2 separate regions of the Homo sapiens genome follow, and region 1 is linked to region 2. Evidence: promoter capture Hi-C in 16 types of primary human blood cells and fetal thymus (Javierre and others, 2016). All regions are on one chromosome and are shown on one strand. The core of a region is centred on a gene start or on the middle of the fragment in contact, and the rest is flanking DNA. Distances in the headings are between cores, read along the strand shown.

Region 1 (6,555 bases), core at 2,140-4,639, 1.3 Mb before region 2:
GAATCGCTTGAACCCAGGAGGTGGAGGTTGCAGTGAGCCGAGATCGCGCCACTGCACTCCAGCCTGGGCAACAAGAGTGGGACTCTGTCTCAAAAAAAATAGAACTCTCATTAGACCTATCCAACATTGTAATCCTCCTTCCCCACAATATGGCAAAGTGCTATGTGAGCCATACCTTTTTTTTTTTTTTTTTTTTTGAGACAGAGTCTCGCTCTGTCGCCCAGACTGGAGTACAGTGGCATGATCTCGGCTCACTGCAACCTCCGCCTCCTGGGTTCAAGCGATTCTCCAGCCTTAGCCTCCCGAATAGCTAGGATTACAGGCATGTGCCACCGCATCTGGCTAATTTTTGTATTTTTATTAGAGATGGGGCTTCACCACATTGGCCAGACTGGTCTCAAACTCCTGACCTCAGGTGATCCACCTGCCTCAGCCTCCCAAACTGCTGGAATTACAGGTATGAGCCACCGTGCCCCGCTGTGAGTCATACCTTAATTGAACAGTGTGTATCAGGCACTGTGCTATCACTGAGAAGAATGAAGTATGAAAGAAAGAAAGCTACAGGTATTTGATGCCAGCATAGGCTCAGTTGTCCTTTGATGTGGCCCTGAGCAGCACTCCTCCCACTCTCCTTGAAGACCACTTAAACCTCGTCATCTCTGTCAGCAGAAGGATGAGTCTGTCTTTCACTGAGAAAGTCCAGACTGTCAAGCATGAATGCCATCTTTACATCCACTTTCTTTCCATCTCAGGGAAAGGAAAGTCCCTTTTACTCAAGAATAACCCTTTCTCCCCAGACCCACCCTTCCCTGGTCTTCTGAGACCTGTACCATTCTGCATACGCTCTCTTCTGACCCCAGCCTCACTTCATTTCTTTGTCGTGGTCTAGCTACCAGCCTGTCACCTTCCCTACAGAACCAGACCTTTTCAGGAGTCAATATTTACTATCTCTACTTCCTCACTCACCATTCCCATACCCTCTTTAGCTCACTGCAGTCTGGCCTCTGCCTCAAGCACCCCCTAAAACTGCTCTTGCTAGTTATCAATGATCTCTGTGGCCAGGTCAGGTGGATCCTTTCCAGGCCTGATCTTATTTGAACTCAGCTGTTTCTGGCACCATAATGCTGATTCCCTCAAATGCCCTCACCAAGCTCTGTGGGCCCAGCTCCTCTGGGTTTTCCTCTTATTTCTGGCCCTTATCTCTCAGCTACTGTCTCAGCTCCACTTTCTCTCTGTCCCTTAGGCAGTGCTATTCTCCAAGGGTCTCATTTTTACTTTTCTTATGCTCACATCCACTGGATGAGCTGATTCCCTTCCATGGCTTCAACTACCATATGGGTACCATAGCTCATACGGATACACAGCTCAGTCATACATCTTCAATCCAGAACTCTCAATCCTGTTGCCTACTATTGACCTTCACTTAAATATACCACAGTCACTACAAAAACATCTACATAGTTGATGTTTCTCAACATCTTTCTCCCCAAACCTGCTTCCCCAGGATGCCCCATTTCAGTGAAACCTCAGAATTAAACCGTTAGGAACCCAGCAGCTATCCTAGACTCACCTCCTCTCTTGGGCCCATGTCCAGTCAGTCTCCAAGTCCTGTCAGTCCTGCCCTGTGCACCTTTCTCACATCTGCACCTGATCACCACCCCCTGTGGCACTGCTGTAGATCTGTTACTCTTCCTCCTGGAGATCACCTCACCTGCCTCCTAGCTGATCCCTCTTGTCTCACTCTCATCCTATCCAGTCTGCTGCCACTTGTGCTTCCTAAAACACCCATCTGATTGTGTCACTGTGGTACTTAAAATCCTGCTATGGGGCTGGGACCCATGGCTCATGCCTGTAATCTCAGCACTTTGGGAGGCCAAAGCAGGAGGATCACTTGAGGCTAGGAGTTTGAGACCAGCCTGGGCAACAAAGGAAGATCCTGGTTCTACAAAAAAATAAAATAAGAATTAGCCGGGTGTGGTGGCATCACCTGTAGTCCCAGCTACTTGGGAGGCTGAGGTGGGAGAATTGCTTGAGCCCAGGAGTTCGAGGCTGCAGTAAGCCAAGATTGCACCAGTGCACTCCAGCTGGGGTGACAGAGCAAGGAGACCCTGTCTCAAAAAAAAAAAAATATCCCACAATGATTCCTCACATCCCTAGGATGAAACCATAGCTAGCTAGCATGGTGTACACAGCACACCCAGCCAACCAAGGGCATCTCTCCAGCTCTGATTTCTGAGTGCTTCCATTGCACGCCTACACTCCAGCCCTTCTAGACTATTTGCAGTTCCCCAAATAAGCCATTCTCTCTCTCCTTTCCATGTATTTGCACCTGCTGCTTCCTTTGCCTTGCATATCTGGTTCCTGTTTCCTTCTTCCTAACTCACATTCTATCCACTCCCTCACCTGGCCTACCTAACTCATATTTGGACATCAAAATGCATCTGCTCTGTGAAGCTTTCCTTTAAGTTCCTGGTTCTCACGGCACCCTGCACACAACTCTGTCACAACATGTGCTATTGTGCAAGCATTTTTGCTATTGTCGGTCTCTCTTTACTACTAGAGTTCCTTGACAGCAGAAGCTACATCTAATTTATTTATATATCCTTGGCGTTTAGCAGAGTGTCTGGCTTATAGTAAATAAGTATTGAATAAATAAAAAGGGGCTCTCAATATTGTTATTAGACCACAATCACCACTTAATTCATCTTATTGTGCACCACTTCATATATCCCAATCACTTCTACCAGAAAAAAGATCATCTAAGTTCCGAAATCAGTGTCCACCATCATGCTAAACACACACATAACAAACATATTGTGGTGTTAACCAGAAGACAGAGACAGTGTGAACACAGATGTGTAAAGCATGACCTCTGGTGGCTTTCAGAGGATTCTCTCCCACTCCATATCTCATTTCTCTTCAGAGAACAGTCTTCCAAATAGGGAAATGGGTAGCTTGAAGGAACCTGGGCACTGCCATAACTTATACTCACAATTGATTTGAGCTGCCAGAGCCCCTTGTTCCTCTAGACTAGAACTCTACTTTCCTCTGCTCAAAAACGCCTCTGAAACGTTAGCCGACTTGAATATGGAGATAGGGAGGCAGGCAGAAAACAGACTTCCCTGGTACCCGACTGAGTGTCTTCACCAGAGTCCTTTATGTTACCATCTCTGCTCATCACACAGACAGAAAGAAGACTACCGGCGACCCTACTGGGAATCTGCGCAAGAAACCACAGTACCTTGGAAGCCCGCAGTTCTCCTAAGTAGGAATCATCGTTATCTAATGTAGGCTGCTGGAAAGGGTCCCGGGTGGGAGGCATGGCTAAATGCCTAACTCTTTTAAGAGGGATGGGAGGCCCGCTCAGCCGCAGCACAGCCTCACTGGCATAAGATCCCGGGTCCCAATTGTTTGGAGCGCTGGTTTCGGTTGCCAGGCAACTGCCCAGCCATCTATGACAGAGGAATTCCCTCAGAGGAGGGCGCCACCTGGCGGCTGACCACGGGAGGCCCCTGGGGAGGAAGCTCCGGGGACTGCAGAGGGAACGTTCCGCTGAGCGGGCCCGAGACTTGGAATTGCACTCCTGAGCCTCGGCGGAAAAGTGCTGGCTGCTCACCATCAGGACTTCTGCAAAAGACTTCAGTTGAGGAAAGAAGTCCTGAAAGATGACCCAGAAATTTCCTTCTCCCTCGCACCTAACAAAAGGCTTTCAAAGCCATGAGAGAATGAGGATGTCAAGAGACCAAAGAGGGCCGGGCGCGGTGGTTCACGCCTGTAATCTCAGCACTTTGGGAAGCGGAGGCGGGCGGATCGCTTAAGCCCAAGAGTTCGAGACCAGTCTGGGCAACATGGCGAAACCCCGTCTCTACAAAAAGTAGGAAAAAAATTAGCTGGGCTTGGTGGCACGCGCCCGTAGTCCCAGCTACTCGGGAGGCTAATCCAGGAGAATCTCTTGAACCCGGAAGGCGGAGGTTGCAGTTAGCCGAGATCGCGCCACTGCACTCCAGTGTGGGCGAGAGAGTGAGACCCTGTCTCAGAGAGAGAGAGAGAGAGAGAGAAAGAGAGAGAGAGAGAGAGAGAGAGAGAGAGAGAGAGAGAGAGAGAGAGAGAGGCCCACGTGCGGCGCTTGGGAAATTGCGGCTAAGGCAAACTCCTCGCTTAAACTCGGATCAACTACAGTGTCAGGGCTTCTCTTCTAGCCGGTTGTAAAAGCACGGATGGATTTGGCGGGATGTAAGATCTCCAGGAGTGGCCTTCGTAGGAGGGAACACGTACTGGGGCCTCTTCCAGGCGACGACGTCTGGAGGGTGATCTCTCCATCTTCTTTCTCTCGGTTCACACGCCACGTGTGCAACATCGGAGATGCTCATAAAATAACCCCTGGCCCGAAAGGGCAGTAGAAAACGGAAATTTGTTGGCTGGCTTGGAGGATGCTTCCACTGTGTTCTTCACACGAGCCCCGGGCCTGCCTGTTGGGCCGGTTGCGCACCCCGGGCGCGCGCTCTCCCGCGCCCACGCCGCGCGCACCAGCGGCGGCGGCTGCCATGGCGACCCGCAGGTGAGCTGCAGAGGCGCGCGTGGTCCCTGCCCCACCCGCGCGGAGCCAGAGAGGAGGCGGTTGTCAAGGCGACGTGGGTAGGAGGAGAGGACAGAGGGAGGAGGAAGGATGGGCGGTGTTGGCGTAGCCGCAGGGAGGTGACTGAAGCGAGCCTGGCCTCTTGCATCCTCCGCCTGTGTACCTCCCTCCCCTTTTTTTCCGCCTTCTGCCAGCAGAAGCAGCAGCCGCAGCACCTGAGCCGCTACTGCCGCTCACTCAGGACAACGCTATGGCTGAGCCTGGGCACAGCCACCATCTCTCCGCCAGAGTCAGGGGAAGAACTGAGAGGCGCATACCCCGGCTGTGGCGGCTGCTGCTCTGGGCTGGGACCGCCTTCCAGGTGACCCAGGGAACGGGACCGGAGCTTCATGCCTGCAAAGAGGTACTGCCGCCCCCCTACCCGATCCCGCTTTGGTCACAAAAGTCTTGGATCCAGGCGGAGACCTTGGGGACCCAGGCGCAGAGAGTTTCAGACGCCACGGAGTTTAGATTTCTTTGGGGATGAGGCGTGGGGGGAGGGAAGAGGAGCCAGTCTGGCGTCATGAGGAGGCCAGCACATTGGAGGACTCACGGATAGATCATCCTCACAGATTGGGATGCTGAGCTCAGCGAGAAAGGTCCCAGCCCCAAGAAGGGGAGCTACCTGGGTACCTGAACTCAGAATGAGGGAGGCAGACGAGTTATTTTCCAGTTAGGATGAACTCACCTTAAAAGTGGTTGACAAGAAAAGATTATGCACAGAGAAGCAAAATAGGAAGAGGAAAGAAGAGTAGTGGGAGAGGAAAGGAGTTAGGAAGGCCAGAAAAAAGTATCAGAGCGAAGTGGTTTTATCATGGCTACACAAAACGGAGTGTGAAGGTGGGAGATGTGCGAGAGGGATGATAGGATTCCAGCTCTCTAGTTCCTTGTTTATTAAACATCGGTTAGTGCAGACTGTAAAATGTGTCTCCTCCTTATAGCTTGGCCTCCCCGCAGCGTACTATGTTTAGTGTACCTGACAGTACACGACTCACCTTTTTGCAGATTTTGAGTTCTTCAATATCTTGTGTTCTGCCAACCTCTAGTCTCCTTCTCTGACTTAACATATGTCAAAGTCTTTTTCAAGGTATTTCCAATATGTTGGAAGCAGAATTCAGACAATAGGTAGTCAATCTCTTATAACCAAAAATAGCTTTTGAAAAGTCATCTTGGAGGAACATAAAAGGGCACTAGCAGCAACAAAACTAAGTCATTTCTATGTTATTGAAATAACAATATTTGGTTGTGCTCTGAGCAACTTTTTTAGAAACCATATGGCAGAGGCAACAATAAGATATTTACAAGAACTACGTTGGGGAAGGCAAAATAAAAGTTCTGTTATTTCTGTGAAATGTGAAGGACTTCATAAAAAGTCAAGCATCTAGCTCTGTAAATTTAATCCCAAATATCAAGCTTGACTAAGGTTTTGAGAGGTTAGAATATATATATAGATGTATTTTCTTTACTTTAAAAAATATATGTTTTAAAATAGAAATGAGGTTTCGATATACTGCCCCGGCCAGTCTCTAACTCCTGGGCTCAAGCGACTTCCCACCTCGGCCTCCCAAAGTGCTGGGATTATAAGAATGAGCCACTGCGCCCAGCCCAGAATATTTTTTATAAATTGTTAGTGTGAACTGATTGGCAACAACTCCATCCCATATGGAGATAAATTCTTATAAAGATGTTCTGTGTCTACAGCACAGCAGGTCATAAAGAAGTCAGGTGTGGGGGGGAGGATTTTTGTGTGAATAAAGATACTTGATTTTGAAGATTCATGAATATGACATAAGTGACCCCAGTGAGTGGGACTTTTGATAACCTTTATTAGCTCCAATGACAACCTGCCCTGGGCCATCTACATTTCCACCTAGCCGCATTATGACCTGTTTTAGAGATCGCAGGGAACAGTATGATCTTATCAGTGACTGGCTCACTGG
Region 2 (6,248 bases), core at 3,733-6,232:
AAGATGTGGAGATAGAAGCCAGTGATATTGATGATCCTGACCCTGTGCAGGCCTAGGCTAATGTGTGTTTCTTCTTTGCTTTTAACAAAAAAGTCTAAAAAGTAAAAAAGTTTAAAAAAAGAATTTTTGTACAGCTGTACAACTGTTTTAAGTGTTATTATAAAGTCAAAAAGTTTTATTGACTCACTCAGAGCAACTTCCAGTGTTGTAAGCTCCATTATGGTAAGTGCCCTATTCAGATATACCTTTTAAAAAATTTCCCTATACCATACTTTTACTGTATCTTCTCTACGTTTAGATACATAAATACCACTGTTATAACTGCCTACATTATTTAGGCTACAAATCTTTGTAGTCTAAGAGCAATACAGCCTAGGTGTGTAATAGGGTGTACCACCTAGGTTTAAGTACACTCTATGATGTTCATACAACAAAACTGCCTGACACATTTCTCAGAACATATCCCCATTGTTAAGCAATGCATGACTGTATGTTTTTTCTTTTTACAAGGCTGTGATAGTAGCAGTTGTATATATATACTTTTTTTCACATATTATTCTGAGGACCATCACTTGGAATATCTTTAGTAATTTTATTGCTTTAGAAGTAATTTTTGGCTGGGTGCAGTGACTCATTCCTGTAATCCCAGCACTTTGGGAGGCTGAGGCGGGCAAATTACTGGAGCCCAGGAGTTCGAGACCAGCCTGGGAAACATGGTGAAACCTCATCTCTACAAAAAAATACAAAAATTAGCTGGGTGTGGTAGTGTACACCTGTAGTCTCAGCTACAACTCGGGAGGCTGAGTTGGGTGAATCGCTTGAGCCCGGTGGGGTTGAAGTCACAGTGACCCATGATCACACCACTGTACTCCAGCCTGGTGCCAGAGCAACACCCTGCCTCAAAAAGAAAAAAAAAAAAAGTAATTTTTATTCTCTGATTAGTTTTCCTTTGTGCTATTTGTTACTTTCTTTTTGTTGGTAAACTGATAGCTTCTGCCAATTCTTATTCTTCATTTAAATAGCATTGTGGCCTGAGAGCACATTAGCTTTAGGGATCAACTTGTCTGTTCCTGTGATTCAAAAGATTAAGAACTTTTCCCAAAGTAGTCTGAATAAGGAATCACTGATGAACACAGGGCCGGCCCCCGCCAATTTTACCAGGAATTTTTCTGAACAAAAAGGAAAGGATCTGCTGAAATCTACTCACCCATTATCTGATTCTAGACACACCACAGGAATATCAGTGGGGTCAGAGGTTAGCTTAGCTGCTTGCTGGGCTAGAACAGATATCACTCCAGCATGCTCATCTGACAGGGTCCCGCGGCCTGGAAAATAGAGATGATATATGTCACCTGATTGCTCATAGAGTATTTCTGCTAAAATAAGCTAGCTGGCTGTTTTAAAATGTCTACAGAATTGTCTTTTTATTAATGTCTGTATTAGTCTGTATATATTATAGTAACTAAATCTCGGGTACAAAAGTACCTATAAATTCTAGGTACGAAAATTAATTACTAAGTGTACTTTACAATATATTTCTGTATATAAAGGCAACACAAAGTTAACTGTACCTGAAACCAAATCAGGTAATAGACATGCCACTATGGCAGAGCATTTGGATGTACTATTACTATACAAAACATTTTGACCAGATCCGATGCCGACGTTTGAGCCTTGAAGGTTTCTTGAAGGAACTCATTTAGTTTTAGATTTCCATACCTGAATTTCAGTCTTTCCATTAGTAAGCCTAGCAAATGCTTCCAAAAATTTACCCTTTTTCTCCCAAATGACTGATCTGCATGTTAAACATAACTGAGTTACACCGATTACCTCTTTCAGTTACCCTTCCAGCAAAAATTCAGAGCTTTAAACATTCCTGCATTAGGAGCAACAAGTCTTGGGTTTACTAGTTGTCACTAATTAACTGAATGCTTTACTTATTTACCTTTCCAAACTTATTTCCTCATGTGTAATTGCTACCATTTATTAAGTATTATGTCTCAGTTCTATGTAAGCATTTTATACATATTATATAACCTTAAAATATCGTGATTAGGCCGGGTGTAGTGGCTCATTCCTGTAATCCCGCACTTTGGGAGGCGGAGGTGGGTGGATCACCTGAGATAAGGAGTTCGAGACCAGCCTGGCCAACATAGTGAAACCCTGTATCTACTAAAAATACAAAAATTATCTGGGCGTGGTGGCAGGCGCCTGTAATCCCAGCTACTCAGGAGGCTGAGGCAGGAGAATTGCCTGAACCTGGGAAATGGAGGTTGCAGTGAGCCAAGATCGTGCCACTGCACTCTAGCCTGGGCGACAGAGCAAGATTTCGTCTCAAAAAAAAAAAAAAAAAAGTGATTAAGAGGCCTCAGGGCCAGACAAAAATCCTAGCTTAACGACTTACTAGCTGCATGACCTCAGGCAAGTTATTTAACCTCTGTGTCTCAGTTTCTTTTTTTATTTTTTGAGACAGAGTCTCGCTCTTGTCATCCAGGCTGGAGTGCAATGGTGCAATCTCGGCTTACTGCAACCTCTGCCTCCCAGGTTCAAGCGATTCTCCTGCCTCAGCCTCCCGAGTAGCTGGGATTACTAGCACCTGCTACCATGCCTGGCTAATTTTTTTTTGCATTTTTAGTAGAGATGTGGTTTCACCATGTTGGCCAGGCTAGTCTCGAACTCCTGACCTCAGGTGATCCACCCGCCTCCGCCTCCCAAAGTGCTGGGATCACAGGTGTGAGCCACCGCATCCGGCCTCTTTTTTTAAATTTTAAAAACATATATATATGTTTATTGTAAAAATAGAGATGGGGGGTCTCACTGTGTTGCACAGGCTGGTCTTGAACTCCTGGGCTCAAGTGATCTGCCCACCTTGGTCTCCCAAAGTGCTGGGATTACAGGCGTGAGACACTGCACCTGGTCCCTCAATTTCTTTTTCTACCTCACTGGGTTGTTATGAGGAATAAAAGAGTATATGTAAAGCACTTACAATGGTGCTTGGCACATAACAGCTCAATAAATATAATTCTATGATTATTACCATTATCAAATAACAACCCAGTGAAGAAAATGAGGGCCTAAAAGGTAGTTTTTTGGTCCACGTTCACACTACTAACAAATGAAAGAGCAAGGGATTGAGACCAGGTATGTCCAACACTGAAATCCCATTTTACTGCCTATTCACTTCTTGTTTAGTGTAGTTGAGCTTCAAAATTGTACACCACCCACCTTGCCGGGTTGTTGTGAAAATTAAAGATAATGTATTTAGAGCCTAGCAGTCTCAGCATATGGCATACATTCAATAAATGGTTAACAGCTGTTATTATCTGAAGTCCTTTCTAGACTCAATTTAAAATGATTCAAATATTATTTTTAGTAGAGACAACTATTTATTGTTATAGGACTGCAAGGAACATCTTCCTTCATAAATACCAACTGAAAAGTTTCAATTTTCTGATACTGTTATTTGGAGATAATCTCTACTCTCAAACTCAGAAAGACCTGGCAAGGTAACAGGAAATAAAAGCTAGAAAATAATAGCACGCTAGGCTCCAAGTCAACATCAGATGCTATGCAATTCATCAAATAGTTGGTATGAGAGATACTTACAACCCAGATTAAGTCCTTGTGAATCTGTGCACAGGACTCCAACAATGGAGGGATTCTTCATTCTAATTCCAGGAACACAAGAGAGTTGAAGTACATAATGGGAGAAAAAGGATTTAAATAAGTACAAACATACAGGTGTTCTATGTACCAGGCATTAAGTGCTTTAAATCAATATTTCTCAATCTTTTTTCATTGTCACACCCTAAGAAAAAAATTAAGTTCTAGGGCCGGGCGCGGTTGCTCACGCCTGTAATCCCAGCACTTTGGGAGGCCCAGGTGGGCGGATCACCTGAGGTCGGGAGTTCAAGACCAGCCTGACCAACATGGAGAAACCCCGTCTCTACTAAAAATACAAAATTAGCCAGGCGTGGTGGCGCATGACTGTAATCCCAGCTACTCGGGAGGCTGAGGCAAGAGAATCGCTTGAACCTGGGAGGCGGAGGTTGCAGTGAGCCGAGATCACGCCATTGCACTCCAGCCTGGAAGACGAGCGAAATTCCGTCTCAAAAAAAGAACACAAAAAATTTAAGTTCTAGTTAATTAATTGAAATAAACCAGTTTCTCTCTGATGAGAGAAAAAAATGTGCTAAGTACTGCTGAGTTCTGGAGGGCCACAAACACTGCGTGAAAAACATCTAGGATGTTTTCACTCTTGTTAAAAACGCATGTTTTAGTACTAACTCATTTAAAACAACTGTTGAAAAACTCAAGTTACCTCCTGGAGGGTAAGTGGAAGCTGAGGGACATCGGTGGGAGGCAGGTGTCTCTCTGTACCCTTTACACTTTTCCAGTTTTGAATTTTACATAGATACTGCTTGTTCGAAAAATTTAAAGAATGATTTTTATCTACTTAAGCACCAAGTAACTGATAGGTTACACACAGGAGATACGTGTTTGTTTACACTGCAGGGCTCGACACTGCACAACTGGCACAATCTTCCCAAAAGTCAACCCGTTTTCTAAAACTTCCGCAGAACCACCCTGACCGTAAAGACGATTTCAACAACGAGATAGGCAGTTTTGGCCCGTGGCCTGGGCCCGGGAGACTCGCTCAAGAGGGAATGTGCGGTGCCCGGCAGGATTTTAATTCCGGGTCACCCGCCCCGCCCTGCGGCCTTGGGTAGAGTTTAGCCCCCTCATCCCGTGTCCCGGGGGTCGCGCGACGTCCCCGAGACGCCCTGGCCGGTACTCGCAGCTCGCGCCTTTCGTTCCGCTCAAGTTCCTCCGCCGCGACCTCAGGACAGGCCGAAGAGGCGCGCACTACTCACGTGTCTTCCAAGTGCTGCTCCAAGGTCGCCTCCATCCCACCCACCGACCACTCCGGCTCAGAACCCAGCGGCACGGCACGTCCTTCTCCACCACAGGCCTCAGTCACTTGACGCGAGCGGGGCGTGGACCGTAACGGCGCCTCCAAAGGGACAAAATTGATCACGGTGCAACGTCCGCGTTCTTTACTGGAAAACATCACTGCGCTTCCGTCGCACAGAGCCTGACGAAGGCTTGGGCTCCCCGCGCGGTGACCGTCGAGGTGACCTGCACCTGGCTCCATGGCGGAACCGGCCGGCACGGATTATTCCCCTCTCGGGAGAGGTCTGCAGCCGGGCCTCAGTGCTTCAGTTCGTGGCCTGGCATTTTGTGTCAGTGTTTTTTAACCTTTGGACCCTAGTTCAACCGACTCCGAGACCTAGGGGACAGATCTTAAGTTTTACAATAACCCAGGGGTCAGACAGGGTCTGATCTAGCCTGTGGGGCAAGTACGGGGAAGACACGGGACCTCTTGGAGGGGGTCAGTAGGCTTGTAGGGGGAAAGACGCACACAGAGACTAAAGGACGAGATGGAGCAAGGTTCAACCCCCTAGCTGAGTGTTGGCAGTGTCGGGATTTTAACGAAGACATTGGTGCTTATTATGGTGAGGGGACTCAGGACAGTTTAGGGGAAGAGAGTGGCATTTGAGTCCTAACTCGTAAGGAAGACTGGGTAGGACTACTTGAAAATAACTTTTAAAAATTAATTATAAAGCTGGTAAAAATAGGAAAACATCTATGGCCCCACTGTCCAAAGACGACTTTTAACTTCTTGGAGAATATCCTTTCAGATAGTTGTCTTTGTAAATGTATACTTTTAATGTTTTTTCGTTTGCCTTTTTAAAATAAATTTTTTGGGGGACAGGGTCTTGCTCTGTTACCCAGGCTGTAGTGCAGTAGAACGATTATAGCTCATTGCAACCCGGACGTCCTGGGTTCAAGCTATCCTCACCTCTCAGCCTCTCGACTGGCTAGGACCACAGCCTCGAGCCATCATGTCTGGCTAATTTTTACGTTTTTTTGTAGAGATGGGGGTCTCGCTGTGTTGTCCAGGCTGGTCTTAAACTCCTTGCTTCAACAGATCCTCCCACTCCAGCCTCCCAAAATGTGATTACAGGCTGAGTCACCACGCCTAGCATGGTTTTTTTTGTTTTGTTTGTTTTGTAAGCAAAATTGACATACATACTGGAGGTACAATTCTGTAGCTGGCCTTCTTTACAGAGTTTAGAATAAATGTCTTTCCATGTCAAGTTTTCACTTACATCCTTTGTAGTAGTTGCAAAATATTCCATTTTATAGCTGTATCTTAATTGTGGATTAAGGTTGGAGTGCAGTGG

The links. Contacts are between HindIII fragments. The CHiCAGO score rates a contact against its expected background, and 5 or more counts as called.
Region 1: the fragment with the promoter of CFAP276 here is called in contact with the fragment with the promoter of LAMTOR5 in region 2 in 2 of 17 cell types (neutrophils and total B cells); the score reaches 6.7 in neutrophils.

Annotation. Positions count from the first base shown.
Region 1 is chr1:109,109,358-109,115,912 of GRCh38, forward strand. It overlaps CFAP276 (cilia and flagella associated protein 276), which reads right to left and starts at 3,390. Exons shown (of 5, transcript NM_001245025.3): 1 at 3,242-3,390. The coding sequence starts at 3,322. ELAPOR1 (endosome-lysosome associated apoptosis and autophagy regulator 1) reads left to right here and starts at 4,758. Exons shown (of 22, transcript NM_020775.5): 1 at 4,758-4,979. The coding sequence starts at 4,827. RefSeq lists a silencer at 4,510-4,579. The HindIII fragment of the contact is 3,574 bases long and covers 2,453-6,026 here.
Region 2 is chr1:110,402,712-110,408,959 of GRCh38, forward strand. It overlaps LAMTOR5 (late endosomal/lysosomal adaptor, MAPK and MTOR activator 5), which reads right to left and starts at 4,983. Exons shown (of 4, transcript NM_001382293.1): 1 at 4,875-4,983; 2 at 3,607-3,668; 3 at 1,208-1,325. The coding sequence starts at 4,909. LAMTOR5-AS1 (LAMTOR5 and SLC16A4 antisense RNA 1) reads left to right here and starts at 5,098. Exons shown (of 3, transcript NR_102697.1): 1 at 5,098-5,243. RefSeq lists an enhancer at 4,925-5,154. The HindIII fragment of the contact is 8,453 bases long and covers 1-6,248 here.